Regions from separate parts of the Homo sapiens genome. Here region 2 is linked to region 1. Evidence: promoter capture Hi-C in 16 types of primary human blood cells and fetal thymus (Javierre and others, 2016). All regions are on one chromosome and are shown on one strand. The core of a region is centred on a gene start or on the middle of the fragment in contact, and the rest is flanking DNA. Distances in the headings are between cores, read along the strand shown. Region 1 holds the start of KANSL3 (KAT8 regulatory NSL complex subunit 3). Region 2 has its middle 56 kb from the start of NCAPH.

Evidence for each region. The method cuts DNA at HindIII sites, captures the fragments that hold promoters and counts their contacts. A CHiCAGO score of 5 or more calls a contact.
Region 2: a fragment that was not itself captured here is called in contact with the fragment with the promoter of KANSL3 in region 1 in 1 of 17 cell types (activated CD4 T cells); the score reaches 5.5 in activated CD4 T cells.

Annotation. Positions count from the first base shown.
Region 1 is chr2:96,636,231-96,640,329 of GRCh38, reverse strand. It overlaps KANSL3 (KAT8 regulatory NSL complex subunit 3), which reads left to right and starts at 2,018. Exons shown (of 21, transcript NM_001115016.3): 1 at 2,018-2,047; 2 at 3,145-3,409. The coding sequence starts at 3,195. RefSeq lists a silencer at 2,089-2,298. The HindIII fragment of the contact is 21,308 bases long and covers 1-4,099 here.
Region 2 is chr2:96,389,309-96,393,572 of GRCh38, reverse strand. No RefSeq gene overlaps it. Among named protein-coding and RNA genes, the nearest start is that of NCAPH, 56 kb to the right of the region's middle. The HindIII fragment of the contact is 6,592 bases long and covers 1-4,264 here.

The DNA.
Region 1 (4,099 bases), core at 769-3,268:
CTCCAGCCTGGGCGACAGAGAGAGACTCTGTCTCAAAAAAACAAAAACAAAACAAAACAAAAAACTCATTAATAAGCAAATAAATGGGATAAGATACCATTTATCACCTCTTAAATTGGCAAAGAATGAAACAAAATGATAAACGTGGTGTGCTGAGGAAAGGAAGGGGCAGAGAAAAGATACAAATCTGTTTTTAGTGGGAATGGGAATATAAGTAGAGAAATAGCAGAACCCTGGCCCCAAACAAGCGCCCAGGAGACAAAGTTAAGGGTAGGGAGAGGTGGGGCAGGGGCTGCTCTATTTGTGATAATTTCTATGGCCTTAAGCTCCATATTTCTAAACAGCACTTTTAAATAGCATTCCTTGATTTTTTCAAATCTATGAGGCATTTTCCCAGTTTTATTGTTTTCCCCGGGGCTCTCCCTCCTGGTCTTCTCTTCTCCCCCAGCTGAGACTAGTGGTCCCCAGTCCTGCAGCATAGCTATTGTCCTGGGATACTCTTTGCCATCACCTTCAGAATTCCTCGTCTGCTTCTTGTGTTAGACCCTGCTTCCCCGATCCTATGCCTTCCGTCTTCTCAGTTTACCCTCTCATCTTTGTGGAACACAGCTTTGAGTGGCTTTCTGAATGTTTCGAGTGTTTGCATGTCTGTACCTATCTTTTTTTTTTTTTTGAGACAGAGTCTTGCTGTGTCGCCCAGGCTGGAGTGCAATGGCGCGATTTTGGCTCACCGCAACCTCTGCCTCCTGAGTTTGAGAGATTCTCCCACCTCAGCCTCCCGAGTAGCCGGGATTACAGGCATGCGCCACCACACCTGGCTAATTTTTGTATTTTTAGTAGAGACAGGATTTCGCTATGTTGGCCAGGCTGGTTTTGTACTCCTGAACTCGTGATCCACCCTCCTCAGCCTCCCAAAGTGCTGGGATTACAGGCGTGAGCCACCGCACCCGGCCATTTCTTTTTTTAAATAGAAACGAAGTCTCACTGTTTTGTGCAGGCTAGTCTTGAACTCTTGGGCTCAAGCAATCTTCCCACCTTGGCCTCCCAAAGTACTGGGATTATAGGCATGAGCCACAGATCCCGGGTGAGATTTATCATCTTGAACCATGTCTCTTGCTGTCTTGTCTCATGTCTCTTGATGTCATGTTGTCAGTCAGTCAACCAAATAACCAATTATTGATCAGTCAACATTTGAACAATTACCTATGTTCTGGGTGTATGTTCTCTGGAGGATACAAAGGTTAATGTCCCTGATTTTGAGGATCTACTCTCTCTACACAAAACACATAGGAAAGTTAACCACACAAAACAATCTAGGGTCAGTAACAAAATTCTTTTTTTTTTTTTTTGAGACGTAGTCTCACTCCGTCGTCCAGGCTGGAGTGCAGTGGTGCAACCATGGCTCATTGCAGCCTGGACCTCCCAGACTCAAGTGATCCTCCCACCTCAGCCTCCCGGGTAGCTGGGACTACAGGCATACACCACTATCACACACACCTAATTTCTAAAATTTTTTGTAGATACGGGGGTCTCATCATATTGGCCAGGCTCATCTCAAACTCCTGAGCTCAAGAGGTCCTCCCGCCTAGGCCTCCCAAAGCGCTGGGATTACAGGCGTGAGCCACATTAGGTAAATTCTTAATGAGTAAATTCAGGTGGCTGCCCTGGTGGAGGTGGACCGTTGGGTGCTCGACCGCCCAGAGGGCACAAAGGACCAACACGGTGGGGGTGGCGAGAACTGGGGCCGTAGAAGCCAGCCTAGTCCTCCGCCCTCGCTTTCCCTACTGAATATGCGCGAGGGGGAAACTCCAGCCTAGTTGTTGACTTTCTGCTTCGGACATGCTCGCGTGTTCTTGGCTCTCCTCTTCCGGACAGAGGCGCCGGAGCTTCATCCGTTCCGGGCTTTGCCGCTCACCGCCTCTCCCTTCCCAGGCCGTAACCCGCTTCCGCGTTTTACTCGGTGCCCGCAGCGCCGGGGCGTGGAGGCGTTAACGCGCACGCGCTTAGGGATCCGGCCGTGGCCGAGCGCGCGGCCGTAAGACCGCGGGTGAGAGCAGCGTTGGCTTCGAGGGGAGTGGCGGGCCGTGGGGATCGCGGCCGTGGTTGGGACGGCCGGGGGTCTCGGCGAGGGCTTCAGGGCTCCCGGGGCATGCGGGGGCCCGGGCTAGGGCCGGCTGCCGGTGCTGGTCGGGCGGGGCGGGTCGGGCCGGGGGCGGGCTGGCAGGGGCCGCGTCTGGGCCTCCGTGACGCGGACGCCGAGCCCTGCCCCAGGGAGCGGGAGGCGGGAGGCGGGGGCCAGGCGGCTCCTCCTCGTCGCGAACTCTGGATGACCTTGGCCAAATCGCTTCAGTTCCCCGAGCTGGCGACTTCGTCTGTAAAATGCGAGTCATAGCCCTGTCTCCTAGATGGGCCGTGTGGAGGCTCAGTGGCGGGAACGCCTGCGGGGCAGCCGGGGTCCTGGGCGGTTTGCTAGGGACGCCTCACTGGGGGTGAGGGTGAAAGGGCTTCCACGGGGATCATTTTGTCACAGGCTTTGTTGGGGGGGCAGTTTTCATTTTTATGTAAACAACTCTGGAATATTACGAAGTACTTAACAGAACTTTTGTTTCGCACAATACGAGAGGCTTGAAGAAGTGGAGCCCTAGCTGGGATTCGCTTTTTTGAGGCCGGCGTTGCCCTGCCCTTTAGGGGTGCCCACGCTCTAGCTGCGGCCCCGGCTCCCTTCGCATTGTCGTTAGAGGATGGTGTGAAGCAACAGAGATCCTTAGCTTTCAACGAATTCATATTTGTGATTTCCTGTTTGTCAAAACCCTTCCTGCCCACCTAGGAAGTGGTGCTGGCCAAGCAAGTTTACTGTCTGTCCACGCGAGGTCTTTCTGAACCTTGGGGTCGGTGAGCTCTCCCGTTAGGTAATTTCAGTTCGCTAGAGGTTGAGTATGGGACAACTCGTGGCACCATAGTTTTTTTTTTCTTTTTTTTTGGTGTTGGTGTGGGATTCCACGAACCGTCCCCACCAGAGGTCTGCCGTGAAATGGATACTCAATAGGAATGATAGTAGGTTACAAAAGTAAGCATGTTAGATGGTGTAGATTGGGAGAAATTTAGGATATTGGAATTGACCTAAACTGAAACTTTTCACTGCAGGTGACTAGCATGCAGATACCCATGCTCTGACTTTCTGCCCCTCCACTGACATGGCCCACCGGGGTGGGGAGAGGGACTTCCAGACTTCAGCTCGACGCATGGGCACCTCGCTGCTCTTCCAGCTTTCAGTGCATGAACGGGAGCTGGACCTGGTTTTTCTGGATCATAGCTATGCCAAGCCTTGGAGTGCCCACCCAGATGCCAGTAGTGCCCGCCCCACCCGCATGCTCTTTGTCACTCCCCGGCGGCAGCACGAAAGTACCATGTGAGTTGGGGCTTCTAAGGGCTGCTGGTAACCTCACTGGGCAGTGATCAGATGGGAATTTAGAGAGGATTTTCTCAGGATTGACTGGGGGAGATTGTATGAGGCATTTGGATGTTAAATTCAGGCATCTCTTAAGCAGCATAAGGATAGCAGGCTTGAATGTGGCTATCTCTGTGAGACAGCTAACAAGAGTTAGGAAAGCAAGACGTGCAAATGAAAAGCAGACAACCTATTCCACTTAGATAGTAGGACGTGTGGAAAGGGGAAAATCGTAGAGGGTTATTTAACTGGTGAAGAAAAAGACTGAAAAGTTGATTTTAAAAGATTACCCACAGGATACGACTCTTTTATCACATTAGTCCAGTGCTCTGGGTTGCTTGACAGTGGCAACAATAGCCTTTTTATAGTAATGCATTTTGCTTTTCTTGGTTTCACACACGAAGGTTAGGAGCCAATTCCCAAGACGTTGCTTTTTCTCTTCCCTTGTTACAGAGCTGCTATCCATAGGTTAATCTAAACCCTTCTTATGTCTAATGATATTTTCACCCAGCCTATGTTATAGGGTAAGGAAGTTTCATAAATTGACTACCTGATGAGTGATACAGTTACATTTGGTCTAAATAAACCTGTTTGCCAGTTCTTTTGCACTTTAAGGCATTCTAATTATGTTTCATGATGTGTTGATATATT
Region 2 (4,264 bases), core at 934-3,433, 250 kb after region 1:
AAAAAAAAATTAGCTGGGTATGGCAGCATGCACCTGTATTCCCAGCTACTTGGGAGGCTGAGGCAGGAGAATCGCTTGAACCCTGGAGGTGGAGGTTGTAGTGAGCTGAGATCACGCCATTGTTCTCCAGCCTGGGTGACAGAGCGAGACTCCGTCAAAAAAAAAAAAAAAAAGGATCACTTACTCATTCAGTACATGTTTATTGAGTACCTACTATATATTGCTTTAGAGGCTGGAGATCCGGTTGGTACGGAAGGCAAGGTCCCTCCCCTAGGGAGCTACCGTTCTGGAGTTAACAACTGAGATCATTTTCAATAGCAATAAGGCCATGGAGACAATAAAAGAGGCTGAGGTGAGAGGGACGTGGGGGATATGTTGGGAGGTCAGGAAAGGACACACCAGGAAGTAACATGGAAGCTGAATCTTTAAGATCCCTCTTTCTTGGAGTGGCCTTTTCTCGCAGAGTCAACACTTGGAAACCTGGGAACACAGCATTCCATGCAGAGGGAACAGCAAGCGGAAATGGGCATGGTTTGCTCCAGGGACAGATATAAAAGGTCAGTGTGCAGGGGAAGGATGAAGAGCTGGGAGGCTCAGTGGACAGGAGGGGAGAGGGCTGGCGGAGGCCACCTGATGGTGTGGGGTCAACAATACATGCTTGGGTGCTGAGTGCAGTGGGAAACACACACATACAATCACACACTGATACAGTTTCAATACATGATGCCACGTAATCTCATGTTGAATTGTAATCCCCAATATTGAAGATGGGGCCTGATGAAAGGTGATTGGAACATGGTGTAGAATTCTCATGAATGGTTTAGCACCATCTTCTTGGTGCTGTCATTGCAATAGTGACTGAGTTCACGTGAGATCTGGTCATTTAAAAGTGTGTGGCATCTCCCCCACTGCACTCTCTTTCTCTTTTTTTTTTTTTTAAAAGACAGGATCTTGCTCTGTCACCCAGGCTGTGGTGCAGTGGCACAACCTTGACTCACTGCAACCCCCACCTTCCGGGTTCAAGTGATTCTCGTGCCTCAGCCTCCTGAATAGCTGGGATCACAGGTGCGCACCACCACGCCCAGCTAATTTTTGTATTTTTTGTAGTGACGTGGTTTAACCATGTTGGCCAGGCTGGTCTCAAACTCCTGACCTCAAGTGATCTGCCCACCTTGGCCTCCCAAAGTGCTGGGATTCCAGGTGTGAGCCACTGCACCTGGCCCCCTACTCTCTTTCTCTTGCTCCTGCTCTGCTATGTGAGATGTCTGCTCCTGCTTCATCTTCCACTGTGAGTAAAAGCTCCCTGAGGTCTCCCCAGAAGCTGAGCTGATGCCTGTGTCATGCTTCCTATAGGCTGCAGAACCATGAGCCAATTAAACCTCTTTATAAATTACCCAGTCTCAGGTATTACTTTTCAGCAATGCAAGATAATACACACACATGCAAGGGCTAATACACACACACAAACACACACACACACACGCAACTGGTGGAGAGTGACCATTTGGTAGAGGCAGGAGTTAAGTGAGCACGCCAACCCCCAAACCAACAGTGATAAATGTCATGGGAATGACACAGCGAAGGTTGCTGCCTAGGCATTAGAAGCAGAACCACACACCCAAATGGTTCAAGCAGGTGACCAGAGGTAAGAACTTAGAAGCAGCTCTCTCACCTAGCAGCTCCCCACTTTTCCTGCTGCTTCTGTTTAATGGACCATTCAGGCATTTGTGCATGAACTTAAGGTGACCCACATCCTATTTCCTTATCTATACTCCTGGGCTCTGATGAGCCTCCTTATACATACTGTCAGTTGCTGCCTCTCTCTCTGTCTCTCCCTTTCTTTCTCTCTCTCTCTCTCTCTCTTTCTGCCTGACCCTTTGTTCCTGCTTCGTGTGAGCCAGGGACAGGAGACATCCTCCTGACTCACTGTGCCTTCCCTGCCCAGGATCTGAAAGTAATAAATCTTTCAGCTTGTTTCTGATTATGGTGTACTGCGCCCTCCATCTGAAGAACCAGGGGCTACCCCAGGCGGAGTTTTCCCTGGGATGCCAGGGAGAACACAAGGTCAGGATCCTAGCATCAGAGCAATGGGCAGGCAGGACATGGGTCAGACAAGGGCCACCAGGTGTCTGCCAGTATAAACAAGTTTCCCAGTGAGGGACACCTGGTCATGGATCAGACAACTAAGCAGCAGGCTGTCCACAGTTAGAAGTAACGAAAGGCACAGTGTAAACACCCACATCCTGCTCCTGCTTATTTCGTGTTAGGGCGGTGTTGCTAGGCACTGTGGTACCGGACCCCCAATTTAGCTGGGGGCTTTCAAAACAGTAAAATACTGGATTTAAAAAAAATACTTAAAGGCCAGGTATGGTGGCTCACACCTGTAATCCTAACACTTTAGGAGGCCAAGGCAGAAGGATTCCTTGATGCTGGGAGTTCAAGACCAGTCTTGGCAACATAGAGAGACTCCATCTCTACAAAACTTTCTTTTTTTTTTTTTTAATAAGTTGGGCATAGTGGCATGTGCCTGTTGTCCTAGCTACTCCAAAAGCTGAGGCAGGAAGATCGCTTGAGCCCAGAGGTTCAAGATTACAATGAGCTATGATCATGCCACTGCACTCCAGCCTGGGCAACAGAGTGAGACTCTGTGTATTAAAAAAAAAAAAAAAATCAAAACAAAACAAAACAAAAACCCCAAACTTAAAGATACTGGAAATCAGACAGAAACCAGAAGAGTTTTATTTATTTTTTATTTTTTTCGAGACAGGATCTTGCTCTGTAGCCCCAGGCTGGAATGAATTGGTGCAAACACGGCTCATTGCAGCTTCGACCTCCTGGGCTTAGGTGATCCTCTCACCTCAGCCTCCTGAGTAGCTGGGACTACAGGCCCATGCCACCATGCCTGGCTAATTTTTGTATTTTTTGTAGAGATGAGGTCTCGCCACAATGCCCAGGCTGGTCTTGAACTTTTGGGCTCAAGTGATCCTCTGGCCTCAAAGTGATCCTCTGGCCTCAAGCTCCCAAAGTGCTGGGATTACAGGCATAAGCCACTGCACTCAGCCATAGTTGTTTTTTGTTTTTTGAGACAGGGTCTGGCTTTGTCGCCCGGGCTGAAGTGCAGTGGCACAATTGCAACTCACTGTAGCCTTGACCTCCTGGGCTCAAGCCATCCTTCCACCTCAGCCTCCCAAGTAGCTATGACCACAGGCGTGTGACACCACGCCTGGAAAATTTATGTATTGATTGATTGATTTTTTTTCAGAGACAGGGTCTCACTGTTGCCTAGGCTGGTCTCAAATTCTTGGGCTTAAGTGATCCTACTGCCTCGGCCTCCCAAAGTGCTGGGATTACAGGCCTGAGCCACCACACCCTGCCTCAGAAGAGTTTTAAACTAAAACTAAAATCAAAACAAGCAAACAACAAGACAGTTCTGGGCATGAGCTGCTTTGCTCCACTGACAGTTCAGCTGTGCCTACGTGAAGCAAACCCCTCAGGGCCTGGTGAAAGAGTCTTCTCTTGAAAGACAGCTATGCAGAACAAGGGCTGTGGGTCTGATGCTCCTTGCCTCAAACACATGCATCTTGGGTTTCAAAAAGCTGAAGTTAAGGACAGAGCACACAGCAGGCAGAGCGGCTGGAAATTAGGGGAATCCCTAGAAGCAAGGAAGTCACAGCCACGATGAACCCCATGTCTGCCCAAATACTTGGCTAGCCACCAAATCTGGCAGGCAGAGGAAAGACCTGTGGGATCAGGCTTAAAGCAATAGCGGGTCACAAAAAGAACAGATATCAATAACTACACTGTGAGGGATGTGAAGTTTGCAGATTGAATCCAGACAATTAACTGCTTACTGGAATAAAAATCCAAGCATCTTTAGAAGAACATGACAGAATCCAAAGTCACTATAACATTGTATCTACAATATCCAATGTTCAACCAAAAGTTACTAAACATGCAAAGAAACAGGAATATGTGATCTCTATTCAGGAAAAGGGGCAAATAGAAATTGATGCTATGCGGGCCCAGATGTTTGATTTAGCAAAGACTTCCGAGTAGCTATTATAAATATGTTTAAATAATTGAAGGAAAATATACAATCAATGAAGAAATGGAGAATCTCAAATTAAAAATAAAAACAATAAAAAAAAGGCCGGGCGCGGTGGCTCATGCTTGTAGTCCCAGCACTTTGGGAGGCCGAGGCGGGCGGATGATGAGGTCAGGAGATCGAGACCACGGTGAAACCCTGTCTCTACTAAAAATACAA